Linked DNA regions of Homo sapiens: region 2 is linked to region 1. Evidence: promoter capture Hi-C in human tissues and cell types (Jung and others, 2019). All regions are on one chromosome and are shown on one strand. The core of a region is centred on a gene start or on the middle of the fragment in contact, and the rest is flanking DNA. Distances in the headings are between cores, read along the strand shown.

What was found. The method cuts DNA at HindIII sites, captures the fragments that hold promoters and counts their contacts. A contact is called where the count stands out against the background at its distance.
Region 2: a contact is called between a fragment that was not itself captured here and the fragment with the promoter of LATS2 in region 1, in 1 of the 25 tissues and cell types used here (dorsolateral prefrontal cortex).

The regions. Positions count from the first base shown.
Region 1 is chr13:21,058,514-21,064,067 of GRCh38, forward strand. LATS2 (large tumor suppressor kinase 2) reads right to left here and starts at 3,073. Exons shown (of 8, transcript NM_014572.3): 1 at 2,833-3,073. RefSeq lists an enhancer at 1,540-2,432 and silencers at 1,938-2,347, 2,488-3,287. The HindIII fragment of the contact is 21,659 bases long and covers 1-5,554 here.
Region 2 is chr13:21,443,011-21,448,564 of GRCh38, forward strand. The region is part of intron 1 of ZDHHC20 (zDHHC palmitoyltransferase 20); the gene reads right to left. Among named protein-coding and RNA genes, the nearest start is that of ZDHHC20, 14 kb to the right of the region's middle. The HindIII fragment of the contact is 8,751 bases long and covers 1-5,554 here.

The DNA.
Region 1 (5,554 bases), core at 1,823-4,322:
TCCCCTCCCACCAAAAGAAAGCCCCTCCCACCAACCCTGTGATTTGCTAAGGAACATGTACAGCTCCAATTTACACTTAAACTATTTCAAACTCGATGGAGAAGCCAGAAGAATCCCTTCCAGTTCTATAATTCAATGATTCTAGTAATTCACCTTGGTAATTTTGCAAGACAGGCTAGCCTCTGCTCAGATACCTTAAACTGCCTGAGATTTGGAAAGTTATTAAATGTTCACCAACTTATATTCAAAGGAATGCTGGTATATTCATTACACTATTATTATATTCAGTGCCTTCTATACCTGCATGAGACAAAATTTTGTGAGACACTGACTTGTTAATTACAGTTAAATAGACGTCATAAACAGTTTATACGTTCTCATTTTGGAATATTTTTTCTGTTACTACCTTATTACAACGGTTGTTACAGAAAAAAAAAAAACATACAAAGCAGCTTACCAAAAATATACAACAAGATTTAGCACAAATTTCCTAATAATCAGCCATGAGTTACTTTTTCCATGATTAAGGGAAGGCCCCTCATCTTCTAAGTTAAAATTTTAAGCAAAACACTTGTGCAAGATCACACACATTTTTGTGATTTCCCATTCAAATTTCAGTATATTTGTTTCTTATTAAAATACGGGCAAACTTTCCTTTAAAAATGTACGTATTTGTTGAATACTTTGTGAAAAGAGCTGTTCAGCTATTAATTTGAATTTTTTACCGGCCAAATGTATACTCTATGGCTTAGTAGTTAAGGTGAAATAATTTTTTTAATGCTATTACATTAAAAACACTCTTGGCTGGGTGCGGTGGCTTACGCCTGTAATCCCAGCAGTTTGGGAGGCTGAGGCGGGCGGATCACAAGGTCAGGAGATTGAGACCATCCTGGCTAATACAGCGAAACCCCGTCTCTACTAAAAATACAAAAAATTAGCCGGGCGTGGTGGCACACGCCTGTAATTCCAGCTACTCGGGAGACTGAGGTAGGAGATCGCTTGAACCCAGGAGGCGAGGTTGCAGTGAGCCGAGATCGCGCCACTGCACTCCAGCCTGGGCGACAGAGCAAGACAACGTCTCAAAAAACAACAACAACAACAACAAAAAACACTCATATCCATCCTAGAGAAGCGTGAAAATGTAAAAGTTCTTGTTCAAAATTCTTGTCAGGTGGGGCGCGGTGGCTCACGCCTGTAATCCCAGCACTCTGGGAGACGGAGGCAGGTGGATCACCTGAGGTCAGGAGTTCGAGAGCCAGCCTGGCCAACACGGCGAAACCCGTCTCTACTAAAAAATACAAAATTAGCTGGGCTGGTGGCGCGGGCCTGTAATCCCAGCTACGTGGGAGGCTAAGGCAGGAGAATCGCTCGAACCTGGGAGACGGAGGTTGCAGTGAGCCGAGATCGCGCCACTCCCCTCCAGCCTGGGAGACAGAGCGAGATCTTGTCTTAAAATAACAACATTTTTGTCAAAAAAATCTGCAAGTTAAGTTCTTTCATGGTGATCCTCGCAAAATAGCATTTCTCATCCAAAGGCCTCAGAACAGCCGCCAGCCGCCGAGCTAACTCGGGACCCTGTTACCGGCTGCTTGGCGCCCTGGTCGGGTGGGTTTTACCTTCTTCAGGGTCCATTCCTCGCCTCGCCCCCCGTTCCCAACCCTCGGGACACTGGAGACTTGCATTTCACAAACGGGTTTGCTCCAGGCCGCACTCCATCCCCGAGGGAAAGCTCCCCAGAAGTTCTGGAGTTGGGCTGAAGGATGTGATGGCAAGATGTGAATGATGTCAGAATCCCCATCTCCAGAGTCCGGCTGGGGAGCTAAGCGCAGGTGAGCTTACATCAGAAGAGAAAGCCAAACCCCCCACACGTCGCTAAACTAGGGCACGGGAATGGCGTGTTATGCAACGGCCGCCGTTCGCGTGGCCACGAAAGCGCTCCTGCGCCTCGGGCCGCGTCCCGCCAAGACCGTGAGCAAACTCGCAGAGTTGGCGCGGCAGCCGGCCGGGAGACGCCGAGCAGGGCCTGGCCGCCCGCAGCCCGGGAGGAACGGCGCCCCCAGGGTCCGGTGGCCTCTGAGGGGCTGACTGGCCCGTGAGCCGGCGGCGCGGCCGCGGGGAACGGGGTGGGAACCGCGCGGCAGTGGGTGAGGCGGCGCAGCCACCGGGGGCTGAGGGGCGGCGCGGCCTCGACTGCGGCACCGCCGTGGGTCCGTCGGCTCGCGGGACGACGGGGCGGCCGGCGGGGGCCAACAGGGCGGGCTCTGAAGGACTGATTGGCCCGTGGGACGATGGCGCGGCCGGGAGGATGGCCCCGGATCCGTGGGACCGCTGCGCCGCCGGACCGGGGGTCCCGAGGCTGTCAGGGGCGCCCGGCCGGGCGTCTAGTGAAAAGCCGATCCCCCGGAGACAGCGGAAGCAGAGGCGCGCCCGGCGCTACGGCCTTTCGGGTCTAGGACACCGCCCCCGGCCCGCGCCGCCCCTGCCCCGCCGGGATCCCGGCCGCCCCGGTCGCCGCACAACAAAGCGGCGCAGCCCCGCTGCCCCCGCCCGACGCCGGCCTCCAACTTCCCCGGCTCCTCTGGAACCGGCTCCGCGGGCTCCGTACGGCCTGGACTACGAGCCGCCGGGCGGGGGCGGCTCCGGGCGGGCGCGGACCGTGGGGGCAGGGCGCAGGGCTCCGTCCGGACAAACTTCCTCGGCCGCCCCGCCGGGCGCCCTTCCCGGAGCCTCGGCACCACAGTAGGTGCGCGGAGCCGCAGGGCTCGACCGCTTCGCGGAAACTCTCGCCACCCTCCGAGCTGCCGCCCCGACCCCAGCTCCCAGCCCCCTCACCTCCAGGGGCGCGGTCTACACCCTCGGGGGCGTCCTGGCCGGCGGCTCCCGGGCCTCTCGCGCCGGGAGACCGGGCACTGGTGGCTGGAGCTGCTGCTGGCCCCGCAGGGACGGGGGAGCCCCGGGCGGCGGCGGTGGCGTGGACGGCGACTGCTCCATCTTCCCGGGGCGCTCACGCCGCGGTTCCAAAGCGCAGACCCAAGTGGGACATTCGCTACATTGTTGGCATTCCACGGGCGTCACGTGACCCCGCCTCCCGCGTCACTCTCGGCCGCATACCAGTCCGGGCGGGGCGCCTGCGGCCCCTGCTCCTCCGCGGCCGCTCCGCCCAGCCCCGCCCGGCCGTGCTTCCTGCCTCCGGCCTCGACCGCCACCTGCCCACGGCCTCCCTGCTGGCCTGCGGTAGCTCGCCAGGGCCTCTCGGACCTATTTGACTGGCTGCTATCTGCCCCCAAACTTGAGTATTTGCCCTCTCGACTGCATTTGTATTAAAAGTTGGTAACTGTCGTTAAAGCCACTATTCTTAAGTATCTCATACCAGTCTTGGTGAAAGAAAAAAAAAAGTTAGCAGGCCTGAAGGAGCCACCAAGTTACCAACTAGTGGCTGGACACTAAAAATAGGGGCAGAAAAGGACAGACGGCTATTGGGACAGTGGAATCAAACAATTAAGAAGGACGTTTGCCAGAAGCGGTGGCTCACGCCTGTAATCCCAGCACTTTGAGAGGTCTAGGCGGGTGGATCACCTGAGGTCGGGAGTTCGAGACCAGCCTGACCAACTTGGAGAAACCCCCGTCTCTATTAAAAATACAAAATTAGCCAGGCGTGGTGGCTCATGCCTGTAATCCCAGCTCTTCGGGAGGCTGAGGCAAGAGAATCACTGGAACCCGGGAGGCGGAGGTTGCGGTGACCTGAGATCGCATCATTGCACTCCAGCCTAGGCAAGAAGAGCAAAACTCCGTCTCAAAAAAAAAAAAAAAAGAACGTCTGATGCACACCCAAATTTAACCTGATTTAATTTAATCAACCTCCCCTCCCCATGTATATTTTCTTTCTGAGAAGTATTTTATGGTGTAGGGAATAGTATAGTACCGTATATACCAGCAAGTGAGGTCGTGGGTTTTGAACAGCTTCACTATCCATTTGAGGACTGTGGATCTGGTACAGGGACAGAAGCAGGGATGGTGCAAAGATTCACAGTAGAAATAATAGACTGGAAGCCAAATCCTCAGTCTACTTCTGGCTCTCCTAACATCATACTTCCTACCACCTATATCTGTGGCAAGTGATGCTGAGGGTCAATATAGTGTTTAAAGTCAACTCGATTTCCTCTTTAATTGACAAACTCTTGTGAAATTTTTAAATTTTACTCTCATGGGAAACAGTAGTAAAGGTCATTATCTGTGCACTATTTTGACAGTCTCACCCAGCCTTCAGTCCCTGGTTCATCCTCCTCCCCTCCCTCTCTTTCAATCTCTTAAGGCCTCAGCTCTTCCAGGGAATCTTCTCAGATCTCTGTTTTCTCTCTTCTTTGGGCTCTGATAATCAAACCGTAATCCCTTCCTGCCAGCAGAAGTGTGCAAAAAAAAAAAAAAGAAACCATCATCGTGCAGCTTAGAATTCAATTTAATTTTTCGATAGTATCCTGTATGCTACCCAGATATCTTGCACAGTACTGGGAGCAAAATAAGTCTCCAGCCAATATTCTGCAATTGAGCCCTACTGGCATTACCTATGTACTTTTCCACATTTTTTCCTTTTTTTCTTAGAGACAGAGTCTCACTCCATTGCCCACGCTGGAGTGCAGTGGCACAATCATAACTTACTGCAGCCCACATCAGCCTTGAACTCCTGAGCTCAAGCCATCCTCCTGCCTCAGCCTCTAGGGTAGCTGGGAACACAGGCGCACACCACCATGCTTGGCCTTCTTTTCACTCTTAAGCTGACTATACTTTCTCCACCCCAACCCCAAGCCACATGGCTGCTAATCTTTTTTTGTTGTGTGTTTAAAGATCCTGCTCCTGCTCTGCCTTCAAAGATGTAAAAATAATTTTTAAAACACTTGTGGAATGAAAAATATTATAAAATAGATTTAATGGACCTTAAAATTTGTGCATAAAATACCTAATAAAAATGTTGCAGTTACAATGATCATTTCAGCATTGTTTGCAGTAGTGAAAAATTGAGAAAAACCCCAAATGTCCAGTCAAGGGGTAGGAAAATGAAAGGTAGATATCCAAATGATGGAATATACACAGTAGCTAAGTTAATGAACTAGCTCTGTAGTTGTAAAGGATAAATGATGGTAGAAAGAATTCAAAAGCACTGTGGAGTGAAAAAAAGCAAGTTGCAGAACTATATATATACACTGTGATACCATATTTATAAATAATCAAAATCCCACAGAACCTAAAATGATCACATACTTTATATAAGTATAGACATAGAATGCAATATCACACACACCAAATTCATGACAGCTGTTGTTTATATTAGAGGGAAGGAGGGAAATTGAGCAGAGAAAAAAAATGAAGACTTCAACTTTACAATGCTTTCTTTTATTTAAAAAACGGAAATAAAACTCAAAATCTTAAAAGTTGTTGGTTCTGGGAGGTTGGGTTCAATAATGTGTGCTATACTATTCTTTGTGCCTTTTTTAAAAAACATTAAAAATTTTAAATTTTATATATATATATGAATACAGACAAATTGGAAACAAGTTTC
Region 2 (5,554 bases), core at 1,717-4,216, 380 kb after region 1:
TAATTTCTTATTTCTACCAGTGCCTTCTTCTGTTACTTCAATGAAGTACAGTTTATTTGCTAGATGGACAGTGCATTTATTTATCCTCTATCGCTTTGATACTCTTGGTTTCAGCTGTATCCTTCCAGCTATTTCCTTCTTTCTCTTTACTATTAAATATTAATACTTCATGGGACACTTTCAACTTCCAAGGTGCTACCTTCTCCCCTAGGAGTGGTGTTTTTTTTTAAGGCTGCCATCTCAAGTCATAAACACTTTTCCAAGTCCCTTTTCTTTTGCATTCTCAGTTGCTATGCTCTGATCCACCAGATTACAGACCTGTTTTCAGTATTTCCCACTCGGGATAGGGTTCTCATCTTCTGAGGATGAACAAAGAGCCTGTTATCCTCTGCAGAGTCCCTTACTCTTAGTTCTGATACAGTCACCAGAGTTCACCTAGCTATTCTTAGATGACTATTTCCCCACTCACATATAAACTGTGGTTTCAAAAATTCTCTATGTCCTAGCTATGCCATAGGCCCAGGTTATATAGTTGATTTTATTTGCTCTTACTAATCTGTATGGGTTTTAGAAGGATATGTGGAAAGGTCTGAATTGAGGAACTAAGTCAACTTCTCAAGTTATAAACTGAAGAAAAATATGCATCTCCTTTGTAGAGTTATTGTAAAGATCAAAAGATATAGACAGACCACTTAATTACTTAGCGCATTAAATGCATGAATAGTAAGGATAATTATTACCATTTCCTGGGGTCCTTCAATATTGTTCAGAAGGATTTAAAATATTATCTGCCAACACTCATTTTTCTAGAACTTCCACATGTGGCTATAGATAACATCATCTTATGATTAGTCTGTGTTCTAAAATTTTGGCTGCGTGTGGTGGCTCACACCTGTAATTCCTGCAGTTAGGGAGGCCAAGGCAGGAGGACCACCTGACGTCAGGAGTCAGCCTGGCCAACATGGTGAGACCCCATCTCTACTAAAAATACAAAAATTAGCCAGGTGTGGTGGCGTGTGCCTATAGTCCCAGCTACTTGGGAGGCTGAGGCAGGAGAATTGCTTGAACCCGGGAGGTGGGGGTTGCAGGGAGCTGAGATTGTGCCACTGCACTCTACCCTGGGCAACAGAGCGAGACTCTGTCTCAAAAAAATTAGTAAATAAATGAGTAAAATTTTGTTGTTAGAACCAGGAATACCTCACCTCCCTGGTTTCACGTTAAGGCTTTAGGCTCTAAACAGACTGCCTGGAAGTCACAGAAGGTTACTTGTTTATTATGTACATCAACATAGAAACTAGTTGGAGAGATAAATTGGCGTGCTAAAGAAATGACTCCCAAATCCAAGTCCATGACCCAGGCCACAGTAAAACAAGAAACATAAGCAAAAGGGAGAGAATTTTTCATAAACTGCAATAATTTAAAGGCACTGAAGTCTTCATTCAGATTATGTCTCATACTTTGATATTAGAATATCCTTTTATAAAATGATAGTGATAATAACGGGTACTTTCAAAAAATACATTATATATGATAAAATTAGTAAATTTATGTTGTTCTACTAAATTAAATTATTCGTATTGGGCCATAAACCCAAGAAATAAGGATACATCTGAAATAGTTATAAATACAAACAGCCAGTAAATCAGCCTTCTCTACGTGAAAGTTAGTAGGTATATCCGTCCCCTACCGTTTTATGATCTTTTTCCTCCAAACTGCTCTTGATAGGTACTGTTATACCAAATGTCACCTGTATAAAAATATAGGGCTGGGCACAGTGGCTGATGTCTTCAATCCCAGCACTCTGGGAGGCTGAGGTGGGAGGACTGCTTGAGCTTAGGAGTTGGAGACCAGCCCTGGCAACATAGCAAGACCTCGTCTCTATAAAAATTACAAAAATTGGCCGGCCATGGTGTTATGCGCCTGTAGTCCCAGCTACTCAGGAGGCTAAGGTGGAAGGATTGCTTGAGTCTGGGAGTTTGAGGATGCAGTGAGCTGTGGTCATGCCAAATGCACTCCAGCCTGGGCAACACAGTGAGACCCTGTCTCAAAACACATACACACACACACATACATGTTTTACATGTATGTTTTATATATTTATATATATATATGGGAGAGGTTTTGTCTTATTTGCATTACATGCCCCAAACACAAGATTTGACTAGTTATAACAAATATAATGAAAGGCCTGCAAATAGAGCTTATAAATTATTAAATATTTTAATGGACAAATGTATAATGGAAAGGGCAAAACTTACAGAGTTACACAGATGTGGATCTGAGCTTTGGTTTTATGTATCAATTGTATGGCCTCAAAAGAGATCTTTAACCTATGAGTCTTTGTTTTTAATCCACAAAATAATGCTAATAATCTCTCTCCAATAGAGTTAGAATTAAAAAAGACCTAACATAAGTGAACTGCCTCAGACTATATGTCAGACACACAACGGGCATACAATAAACAATAATAACAATAGCTATTATAATTAACATTTCCTCCTGACAATTCAAGACAGTTTCCTCACCTGCCTAATGAACAGGCTATCTGAAATCCAGAAGCAACTTTAAGATTATCAATAATACCGATTATCAATAATTGCAAGTTGTCTACTATATGAAAACATTCCAATTCTCCCTCTTCTACTAGCATGCGAATTGGCGGCTACACAATCAATTCACTCATTCAACAAATATCTATTGAGAACATATTATACCAGACCCTATTTTAGGTTCTGGAAATACAGCAGTGAATATACGACTGGAGAGAAACAAAAATAACTGTATGTCAAGTAATAATAGGCGCTATGAGGGGGGAAAAATGCAGGGTGAGGAGACTAAAAGACGAAGTACTTCTTTTACAGAGGGTAGTCAGGAATGCCTCTCTGATAGGTGACTACCTGAACAGCGATCTAGACGAAGTGAGAGCTAGCCATGCGGAAATCTGGGAGGAAAGCATTCCAGGCAGAAGGAACAGGAAGTTCAAGGGTCCTCAGGTGGCCTGACAGATGAAAAGAAAGGTGGCCTGTTGGCTGAAGCAGAATGAGCAAAGGAAGAAATTAGGTCAGAAGCAGTGGCAGGCCACAGCATCTAGAGCCTTATATATTTTCAACTTTGAATTTCATTTTAAGCAAAGTGGAAAGCCATCAGAGGGTGCTGAGCAGAGGAGTAATAATCATGACTTGTATTTTTTTAGCAGATTCATTAGCTCTTCGGGGGATAAGGGAAGAATATGCTGTAAGGGGAAAATATGAAAGTCTATTAAGAGGCTATGTATTGCATAAGGAAAAAATCAGTATAATCTCAAACCCAGCAACATACACTGTTAATATTTTGGTGTATTTGGTATTATTTCCTTCAGATGCTGAGGATATCCTTTTCATGCAATTAGTTTTAAAAGCTTCCCAGAAGACTTCACATTTAATAAGTTTGTGTTTGTTTTTATATGCTGTTGAATTAGTATGTCCATAAAAATTAATTCTTCCTATGATTCCAATGAGTGGTTCAAAGTTTACGATAGTAAAATGCATTGGGAAAGCCAAAATAGAGATGTTTTAAAACCAAATTTTTTTTAAATTTTATTTTAAAGACCTATGGATCTCTATTTAAGGGAATCTATTCTCCATAAAACTAGTCACCTTTATTCTTTATTATATCAGTCATTTAAGTGTAATGCCCATCTGTTCAAGTATATGTTCTACATATTTGAGCAGTATCTAAATGTGTTGCTTATATGCTTACAGGAATAGCGTCAGGTATTAATCTTAAAATCCCACATGGTGATGATGTGGAGGGCTCCCTCCCTTAGACAACACACCCTCCCACACCTCTGTCTATAGAAAATAGATTTCTTAAGCTAGAGATAAAATTAGAGGAAGAGTGGAAAGGAAATTATGTCAGAGAAGTAATGAAGTAATGAATACACAATGCCTTAAAGGCCATGGTAAGGCTTTTAGATATCTTGCTGAGCAAGAAAGGACGCCAGTCAAGATCTTGAGAATAGGAGTAACAAACTGGTATTAATTTGAAAAAGACCATTCTGACTGCTTCCTGGAGAATACATGGAATAAAGGTGGGGGTGGAGCACAGGAAGAGACAGGTTTACAAGGATACTACAATATAGGTGATAATGTGGCATTAACAACCCACCCTAAAACTTAAGTTACTTTAAACAACCAGAGACCGCCGAGGTGCGGGCTGTGAGAGAGGGAGCGTGGAGCCTCCGAGGCCGAGGACTCGTCCCAGTTTGGACAGATAGAAGATGTGAGCGCTCTCCCTCTCCCTCTCCCTCTCCGTCTCCCTCTCCCTCTCCCCACGGTCTCCCTCTCATGTGGAGCCGAAGCTGGACTGTACCGCTGCCATCTCGGCTCACTGCAACCTCCCTGCCTGATTCTCCTGCCTCAGCCTGCCGAGTGCCTGCGATTGCAGGCACGCGCCGCCACGCCTGACTGGTTTTGGTGGAGACGGGGTTTGGCTGTGTTGGCCGGGCCGGTCTCCAGCCCCTAACCGCGAGTGATCCGCCAGCCTTGGCCTCCCGAGGTGCCGGGATTGCAGAGGGAGTCTCGTTCACTCAGTGCTCAATGGTGCCCAGGCTGGAGTGCAGTGGCGTGGTCTCGGCTCACTACAACCTACACCTCCCAGCCGCCTGCCTTGGCCTCCCAGAGTGCCGAGATTGCAGCCTCTGCCCGGCCGCCACCCCGTCTGGGAAGTGAGGAGTGTCTCTGCCTGGCCGCCCATCGTCTGGGATGTGAGGAGCCCCTCTGCCTGGCTGCCCAGTCTGGAAAGTGAGGAGTGTCTCCGCCCAGCCGCCATCCCATCTAGGAAGTGAGGAGCGCCTCTTCCCAGCCGCCATCACATCTAGGAAGTGAGGAGCGTCTCTGCCCGGCCGCCCATCGTCTGAGATGTGGGGAGCGCCTCTGCCCCGCCGCCCCATCTGGGATGTGAGGAGCGCCTCTGCCCGGCCGAGACCCCGTCTGGGAGGTGAGGAGCGTCTCTGCCCGGCCGCCCCGTCTGAGAAGTGAGGAGACCCTCTGCCTGGCAACCACCCCGTCTGAAAAGTGAGGAGCCCCTCCGCCCGGCAGCCGCCCCGTCTGGGAGGTGAGGAGCCTCTCCGCCCGGCAGCCACCCCATCTGGGAGGTGAGGAGCGTCTCTGCCCGGCAGCCACCCCGTCCGGGAGGGAGGTGGGGGGGGTCAGCCCCCCGCCCGGCCAGCTGCCCCATCCGGGAGGTGAGGGGCGCCTCTGCCCGGCCGCCCCTACTGGGAAGTGAGGAGCCCCTCTGCCCGGCCAGCCGCCCCGTCCGGGAGGGAGGTGGGGGGGTCAGCCCCCCGCCCGGCCAGCCGCCCCGTCCGGGAGGGAGGTGGGGGGTCAGCCCCCCGCCCGGCCAGCCGCCCCGTCCGGGAGGGAGGTGGGGGGGTCAGCCCCCCGCCCGGCCAGCCGCCCCGTCCGGGAAGGAGGTGGGGGGGGTCAGCCCCGCCGCCCGGCCAGCCGCCCCGTCCGGGAGGTGAGGGGCACCTCTGCCCGGCCGCCCCTACTGGGAAGTGAGGAGCCCCTCTGCC